3 separate regions of the Homo sapiens genome follow, and all the other regions are linked to region 2. Evidence: promoter capture Hi-C in human tissues and cell types (Jung and others, 2019). All regions are on one chromosome and are shown on one strand. The core of a region is centred on a gene start or on the middle of the fragment in contact, and the rest is flanking DNA. Distances in the headings are between cores, read along the strand shown.

The links. Contacts are between HindIII fragments. The study calls those that stand out against the background at their distance.
Region 1: a contact is called between a fragment that was not itself captured here and the fragment with the promoter of C8orf34 in region 2, in 2 of the 25 tissues and cell types used here (aorta and dorsolateral prefrontal cortex).
Region 3: a contact is called between a fragment that was not itself captured here and the fragment with the promoter of C8orf34 in region 2, in 1 of the 25 tissues and cell types used here (hippocampus).

What each region holds. Positions count from the first base shown.
Region 1 is chr8:68,486,276-68,488,975 of GRCh38, forward strand. It overlaps C8orf34 (chromosome 8 open reading frame 34), which reads left to right. Exons shown (of 14, transcript NM_052958.4): 5 at 1,748-1,776. Among named protein-coding and RNA genes, the nearest start is that of C8orf34-AS1, 160 kb to the left of the region's middle. The HindIII fragment of the contact is 4,532 bases long and covers 1-2,700 here.
Region 2 is chr8:68,329,530-68,332,229 of GRCh38, forward strand. It overlaps C8orf34 (chromosome 8 open reading frame 34), which reads left to right and starts at 1,426. Exons shown (of 14, transcript NM_052958.4): 1 at 1,426-1,810. The coding sequence starts at 1,484. It overlaps C8orf34-AS1 (C8orf34 antisense RNA 1), which reads right to left and starts at 1,962. Exons shown (of 3, transcript NR_038877.1): 1 at 1,778-1,962. The HindIII fragment of the contact is 5,240 bases long and covers 1-2,700 here.
Region 3 is chr8:68,188,779-68,191,478 of GRCh38, forward strand. All of the region lies in intron 35 of PREX2 (phosphatidylinositol-3,4,5-trisphosphate dependent Rac exchange factor 2), which reads left to right. Among named protein-coding and RNA genes, the nearest start is that of C8orf34, 140 kb to the right of the region's middle. The HindIII fragment of the contact is 3,785 bases long and covers 1-2,700 here.

The sequences.
Region 1 (2,700 bases), core at 48-2,547, 160 kb after region 2:
CATCACGGTTCACTCAGCAGTGATACAGCCCAGCTCCAATGCCAGCCCTCCTTAAAGCTTTTTCTCCTTTAACTGTTTGAAGGCACTACCTTCATAATACAGCAAGTCCTTGAATAATTGTTAAGCTTTGGTCACCCCAAATCCCTGAAATGGTAGTTAGACTCTCTTTTGATGTGACACATAAAAATTCTTAGTTACCAATGACTTCTACCAAAAAAAGAATTTTATAAAATATTGAAGAATAAGCCCCAAATGTACCTGTGTTTCTAGTGTCATCTACAAGGGGATCTACAATGGTGTCATTTACTGAGATGAAGTTGTGCGTACTTTTTCAGCTTTGTGTATAATTGATTCATTAGGTTAGTGGTGTGGGAGATGATATAAGAACTAATGAAATATCATTTATACCCTCCACATCTATACCCGAGGCAGGCAGGGGATCTGAACCCTGTAACTCACTCTTTCTACTGAGGTTCATTGTCCTGAGGCTGCTTTCAGGTTCTTTCTTCCAACCCAGCTCATTCTTTCTTGTTCTTTGTAGTCTGCTGAACTTCAGCTTCAATTCCTATTCTTATTTTCTCCAAGTTCTCCTGGGCTTCAAACTTTAGACCTTTCCTTATCTCTTGGCTCGTTCCCTACAGGGGTTTGACACCAACCCCCCTTTGCTCTGTGCCCTGAATGTGAGAGCTGGCCACACCTGCTCCAGCGCCCTGCCACAGTGCTGAAGTTTAGCCCCATTGTTCAAAAGAATAAAACGCAGAGTGAGTTGAGGAGGATGATGTCTTTAGTCTGACAAGTTGATAATGGAATGCCCACAAGAATTCAACAATTAGCTCAGGAAGAAAGTCTGTGCTGGCAGTAAAGATGTGCCATATAGAGAAATAAAAATATCAAAGGTATGGGGTAGATTATCAAGAGAAGTATATCAAATGAGAAGAAAAGACAGCTCAACAAAGAGCCCTTGCCATTTCAGGAAAGGACCCCTATCCCTGCAAAAAAGGGAATTCCTGTGAAGGAGACAAAGGAGAACAGAAAAGAGAGGACAGCATTTCAGTAAAGTGGAATTGATAGTGTATCATCACAGAGAAATAAGTTAAGGACTAAACTTTTTACATTGCTGACTTAGAATAATTTTGGAGAAAGGATAAAGATAGAAATTATACTGATGTGCAGTGAGAAATATGTGGATGGTGGGGGAAGGAACTTGTGATGAAGAATCATTTACGCATTGGCTCGAGGAGCTGTCAATCTGAGGGACTGTGGGAAAATTCCTTAAACTTTCTCATCTATTTCCTCATCCACAAACTAAAGACATTAGAATAAGTCATCTTGGACCACCATTCTGCCTTAATATCTAATTATTCTGGGAATCTAAATTCTTAACAAGGAGCAAAATAGTAACAGGCTAAATTATACTTTATTGTCATCATAACATAAAAATGATATCTCTACAATTACATTCGCAAGTTTGTTCTGCCTTTAACCACCTGCAAGGAATATGGCGCTGCTTTGTTTTTGTTGCATCATTTGCATTGCTTCAGCAGTTCATGGCTGTCATAATTGACTTAAATTCCTAATTTGTTTTCATTGGTAAAAGGATGTGCCACATTATTTTGAAGCACTAATAAAAAGAAAACAAATAGAATAGGAAATGCACTACTTTTACAAATAGAAAGTTTGTTTTGAACATTAGGTTACTAAAGATTGCTTCTAAAACTTTTTTTTATAAATCTCTTTTAAATCCCAGGTATTGCAATTTCAGATGAACTCGATAAGGTAAGTTGAACTATACATCTGGTGAAAAGAAAATGTAGAACTTACCTTTTATTCCACTGTCTCAACATAAATAAATTTTCTGAAACATAAAATGTTCAAGTATAATTTATTTGGGCTAACATTTTAAAACTTTGAAAGTTAAATGCATATTGTTTTATGAAAGCTATTCCATTAAATATATATATCACCTACTCTTTTGAGTCAAGGCCTTTAGAATTTGGTTAGAGAAAATGGAATCACTGTAATCACTGAATCACTATATTGCAAAATAACTTCATAACACTATATTATGTAAATTATTTTATTCCACTTGTATCTAAATGATAATGATATGGAAAACATTGTATTTTTTGATAGCTCCTCTTTGGAAACCTTACCAATAAAGCTTTTTGTTTGTTTATTTTAATTTTCCGAGATGCCAAGAGACTATGATGGTACTTTGAAGTGGGGTAGTAGTTATGATGGTGGTGAGAAGTGGTGTGGTTAGAAATATATTTCTATAGTTGTGTCACTGGAACTTGCTAATGGATTGGATGTGGGGAATTGCAGAACAAATCAGTCAATGATGGATTGCTAGGTTTGGGAGATGAGCAACTAGGTCAATTGTGGTACTGCTTACTAAAATTAGAAAAACTAGGAAAAAATCAAATTTGTCAGGTTTGGATAACATTAAGAGTTCTCATTTAGATTGTTTATTTTGAATTGCCTATTAAACATGTTTATATGAGTTGTTGCTTATGAGAGAGATTTGATTTATAACTAAACATATTCTCATTTTTCTAGTCTCAAAAGCCCTTTACATTGTTAAAAATTGGAGAGGACCCCAAAGAGTCTTGATTTATAAAGATTATATCTATCAATATTAGATTCTTGTGTTGATAATATATTGATATTAGATATCTAAACGTTAAAAATTTAAACTGA
Region 2 (2,700 bases), core at 176-2,675:
TAGAAATGTTGGTATTCACTCTGTGTATTTAATTTCTCCTGGACACATTAAAAAATACATAAGTAAATATACCTTCGAACCAAAATGGAAAGCACGAGGCAACCCTGGACACCTCACTGCTATTTAACTTAACCCTCCCTAGGCAGATCATATGAGTCCGATTGTAAAAGTATTAATGTGGACATCTTTCCACTCTGGATCAAGTCCATTTCAGGTTATCAGGGATGGTTAAGCTCCTAGCTATTCTAGCAGATTTCTTATGTCTTAATGCATGAAATTAATAATAGTTCCTGGGATATTCCACACTTATCTATTACATGTTTCCACATATTTAAAATACAGAAGGAAAACATGAACACCAATAAAGAAACTATGAGTAACAGAAATCCAGAACACAGTGAAGAAAGAAAGAAAAAAATATATACTGCTGCAGTCAGCTTTTAGGAAAACTGTTTCCATCATTCTGAAAATTTATATTTATTAGAAATAAATCTAATTTTGGCAGCACATCATGGTTAGGAGCCAGGGAAATTGTCATTGGGACCTTAGTATTGTATTTCACAAGAAAGAGAGCTCTGTGAGGAAGCCTGGGCTATCTGCAAACCTTCGACTCGGAAATCCCTGCATAATAAGAAAGGTATTGGCTAAATTTGAGCAGCTCACGCAGTATCTAGAGGAAACATTATGAAGTGGGATAGTGTGGTGTCTGAGATGCAGTTATAGGTATACAGACATGACTCAAGGCGTGGATTAGGAAGGCCAACTTTGGAGGGGAGGGCTGGCTCGCTCATTTCTCTTCTCCCTGTCAAATGCTGAAAGGCTGGTTCCAGCCTTTGAGCTCCTGCACTTTGAGAGTTTTCAGCTGGGTTCTCAGGCTGCGTTCACCCGTCGACTTGCTCCAGGCCAAACCAGATTTTGAAAAGGAAGGCAACTTCTTTTTCGCGGCAAACCCTTAAACCCACGCACCTTCTCAAAACTCTGCCCTTCTCAACCCCTGCGCTAGAGTAGGCAGGGCAGAAGGTGCTGAGGAGAGGCTCAGAAGGGGCGGTGGGGACGATCCCCTTTCGAACTGCATTTGTAGCTGCCAAGGAGTAGCCAACAAGCACCAGATTTATGTGCACTTTGAAAGAAGCACCTTCACCATTGGCTTTTTAAGCGGCGCTGTCGCTAGGGAGCGGCTGGTAGGGCGAGCAGCCTCGGGGAGCAGCCCGGGCTGTTTGTTCCGTCACCGGGGAAAGGAGGTACACACAGTCGCGCGCGCACGGACACACACACACACGCACGCACGCACACACACCGGTGGCGAGTTCGAGCCCCGCGGCCCCTGTCCGCCCGCGTGCGCCCCTCGACACAGCTCGCCTCCCGCCCCCTGATTCCTGCTGCTGCCGCCCAGAGGAGAAAGGAACCTCTGCCTCGAATTTCCCCACTGCGCCGGGCGCTGCGGAGAGCGGCGAGGGTGGGCGCGAGGCGGAGAACGCGATGAATGAGTTCTCCCCTCGCCTCGGAGTTGTCTGAGTTGGCGGCGCTGCGCCCAGGCTTCCGGCTCTCAGCGCCCCACGCGCGCGTGGCTCCCCGGGCTGCCACCCACGCCCGCGGCCGGGGCCGAGCCAGCCACGCAGGGCAGCCGAGGCTCCGGAGCTCCTGTCCCGGCCCCAGTCCGGGTAAAAGGAGGGTTGTCCCCAGCGGAGGCGCACAGCCGCGCGTTCTCCCTGCACTCTCTTCGCGGTCCCATCTGTTCCCCATGGCGTCTCATCCGCAAACCCGGATCCAGGCTTACCTGGAGAAGAACAAGATCGGTCCCCTGTTTGAGGTAAGGCGCTGTGGAGGAGGGCAGTCCCGTTGTCTTTAGGGGAAGGGGTGCAGTAATGAAAACAGAACACTCCCAATCCCACCCCTCCCAGGGAAGGAGGGCTAGAGAACCAACGCGCGGGAGAGGGCGCCCTGGGATTCACTGGCATTCGCTCTGTCCCGGCCAGGTGTCCTGGAACGCGGCCGGGCGGGCACTTAGCCAGTTACCTGAACGCGGACAGGTGAGCTCGGGAGGGCCCAGCCTCAGCCTGGCAGGGGAAGTTTTGGCCCTCTGACTGTCCTGCACCTCTCAGCTACATGTTCAGGACCCGGGCAGGCTGAGGCAGGCGACGCATACGGATGCACACACTCAGACTGTGTTGCACACGCACACTTTCTTTTTTGAATTCACGCTATCTTGAGTGTTCGTGTTGGATTTTCTTTTTTCTTTTCTTTTCTTTCCTTCTTTTTTTTTTTTTTTTTTTTTTTTTTTTTAATGAGGGCGGTAATAGAACCCGAAAAGGTGGAGGAGGTGCTTAGCAGTTAATACAATTAACTGGAAGACAGCTGAACTGGTGAGGAGTAGGCTTCAGTCGGTGCGGGCGTGATGAATGAAATTGGCAAACTGAGAGACTGCCATTTGGTCACTGGACGAAAGGAGAGTCCTTTGCACTGCAGACCCCACATGTGTTAGCAGGAGAAAGGGACGGAGAAAGGTTCTGAAAAGCACACACGTATTTGTGGAAGAAGACTATAGCTCTGAGCTGGTTTTGTTTTTTTTTCTCTCTCTCGCCATTAAAGAATTTAAGACAAAAATACAGTAGAAGGAAGAGCGCGAGGACACGAGAAAATGAGAACAAGAGATTGAAGCCTGGCACCAGCAAAGCGTCCCGCGGGTTGCCAGGGTGCTGA
Region 3 (2,700 bases), core at 83-2,582, 140 kb before region 2:
CCATCTGGCCCCACCCTTGACACGTGAGGATTATAACAATTCAGTGAGACTTGGATGGGGACACAGCCAAACCATATCAGCCATCCATAAAGAAACAAAAATGTCAAGTTATTATTTATTTACAAATATTTATTAAGATCATACTATGTTCCACATACTATTACAGGTGCTAGAGATGCAGAAATGAATAAAAATAAATAAAATCCTTAGCTACTAGAGGATTTGCATTCTAGTGGGGAGTTTACATTTTAGTGGCAGAAATGAAATAAGAATAGGTGAACAGGAGGCTTCCACTGTATTTGTAATATTTTATTTATTTAAAAGGTGAAGCAAAAGAACAAAATGCTCAGACTTGTTAAAGCATGGTGCATAAGTGGGTTTTCACAGTTTAATCCTACATAAGTACCTGTACAATTGACGTGAAAGGACACACAGACCTTTCAGTAGAACATGAATTGTTGGACATAGCAATAATATTTAAAACGTCCAGTCTTCTGGCAATGAGGCAAGTTCCATGGCCATTTACCTCTGTGGCTCCCAACTTGCTTAGGGTAAAACCTTATCAGGGCCTGTAAGGTCCTGGGGTCTACCTCTCTGGCCTAACTTGCTCTTTCACTCTGCCCCAGCTCCTGCCCCATTGCATGTTCCTCACACAATTCAAGCTCATTTCCTTTTATGATGACAGCACTCCTCTCAGATTATATCTCTTTCAGATACTGGGGAAAATCTTGAAAATTTTAAAATGATGTCTCAAATGAGACCTTTGATTTTCATCATGGAAATAATCCCTCAGTCTTTTATTTTGCTCTTGATCTAGTGCTTTTATAGACACTAATTCACTCAGCTAGTTAGAACTGTATTTCATGGCACTTGATGGATGTTCCACTTTGCAGTGGCTCATGTCACCATGACCCAGTCTGGTGGGTTGCTGCCTGGGGTTGCTGTAGCCCCCACACTCCCATCAGTGTTATGTGCTTAGGCTGAGGGAACTGCAGATGGTACCTGGAAATCTCTTAGGAATGCAAAGAGAGTTATAATGAGTAACAGCCAATCTTGGATGCTGAGTTGTTTACAAAACTTTTTGAGGAGGATTCAATATGTATTTTAGACAAGAAGGAACTGCTTCTCAATAAAGATGAGCATAATTGTCATTTTGGAAATTAGTCTTTAGAGCTAAAGCATTCATAATTTAAAGTGTAAAGCTTGAATAATCCATGTTACTTTATTTTAAAAAGACAAAACACTATTGCTAGTAATGGGAATATCACTGTGTGTGGGTGTGAACACATATGTTCAGTGGGACTCAAAAATCCCACACAGGGTATAGCGTTGTCGCTCACTGATTTTGCCCAATTATACTGTGAATTTGATAATAATTTACCAACACTTTGAAGTCCTACAGATGCTCTGAAACAACAATATAATCAGCTTTTATTTGAATATCTAATATGACAACTCACTCTAATATCATGGGACTTATTTTGTTCCACCGACATTAAAATGTCACATTCTAGAAATGTGAAGTTTGTCACCTCATCAAAAATAGATACTAGATGGTGAATTTGAATGTATTTAATGCCATTGAACTGTATGCTTGAGAATGCTCAAAACGGCATAATATGCAGCTGTAAAAAACAATGAGATTATGTGCCTTGTAGCAACATGGATGGAGCTGGAGGCATTATCCTAAGTGAAATAACTCAGAAACAGAAAATTTAATACCATATGTTCCCACTTACACAGAGATAGAAGCAATAGATACTGAGGGTTGAAAAGCAATACACACTTTTCACAACCCCCTTCCCACCTCTTCCCACTTGTGGAGAGGTAGGAAGGGGATGAGGGTTGAAAACTTACCTATTGGGTACAATGGTCACTATTTGAGTGATGGGTACAGTAGAAGCCCAAATCCCACCATTATGTAATATATCCATGTAAAAAACATGTATGTATACCCTCTGAATCTAAAATAAATTAAAAGAATGGTTAAAATGCTAAATTTTGTATTATACTGTATACATTTTACCATCACTAAAAAAAATAGATACTAGATCAAATAAAATGTAACTATTTTATCTCCATAGATGATTCCCTTAAAATTTCTGTTTAGTATCGAGCCACAAGCAAAGCAAACACAGCGATAATTATTTGGAAATTGCTGTAATTATTGCAGGCCACTAGGATTCCACTTTGCATATTAAAATGGCTATTTTAATACACAAAATGGCATGAAATACTATACAGCCATAAAATAGAATGAGATCATATCCTTTGCAGTGTGTCCTTTGTTTTTTGCACAAAGTGTATTAGGCCACTAGGATTCCACTTTGTGTGTTGAAATAGTCATTACCATATTGTATCCTGGTAATAAAAAAGAGCCATTGAACCCTTAGAGAGAGTTTCACTTCTAATCGGAGCATAACTTGGTGCTGGAAAGAATCGCCTCAGTGTTGTTTAAAGTTAGGTTTTTATGAGCCTTCGTTCCATAATCTTTCTCACAATAAATGAAAATTGGATAACGTTCTTCAATAGTCACAAAAATGTATTTCTTCAACTTTTTAATAATATTGATCATTATAAATATTAATAAGCACTTATTCTGTGCTGTGCACTGTTCTACATATTTTATCTGCATTAACTCATTTAATCTTGGCAGTCTTATGAAGTAGAAGCTAATGCTTTCCTCAAATTATAAATGAG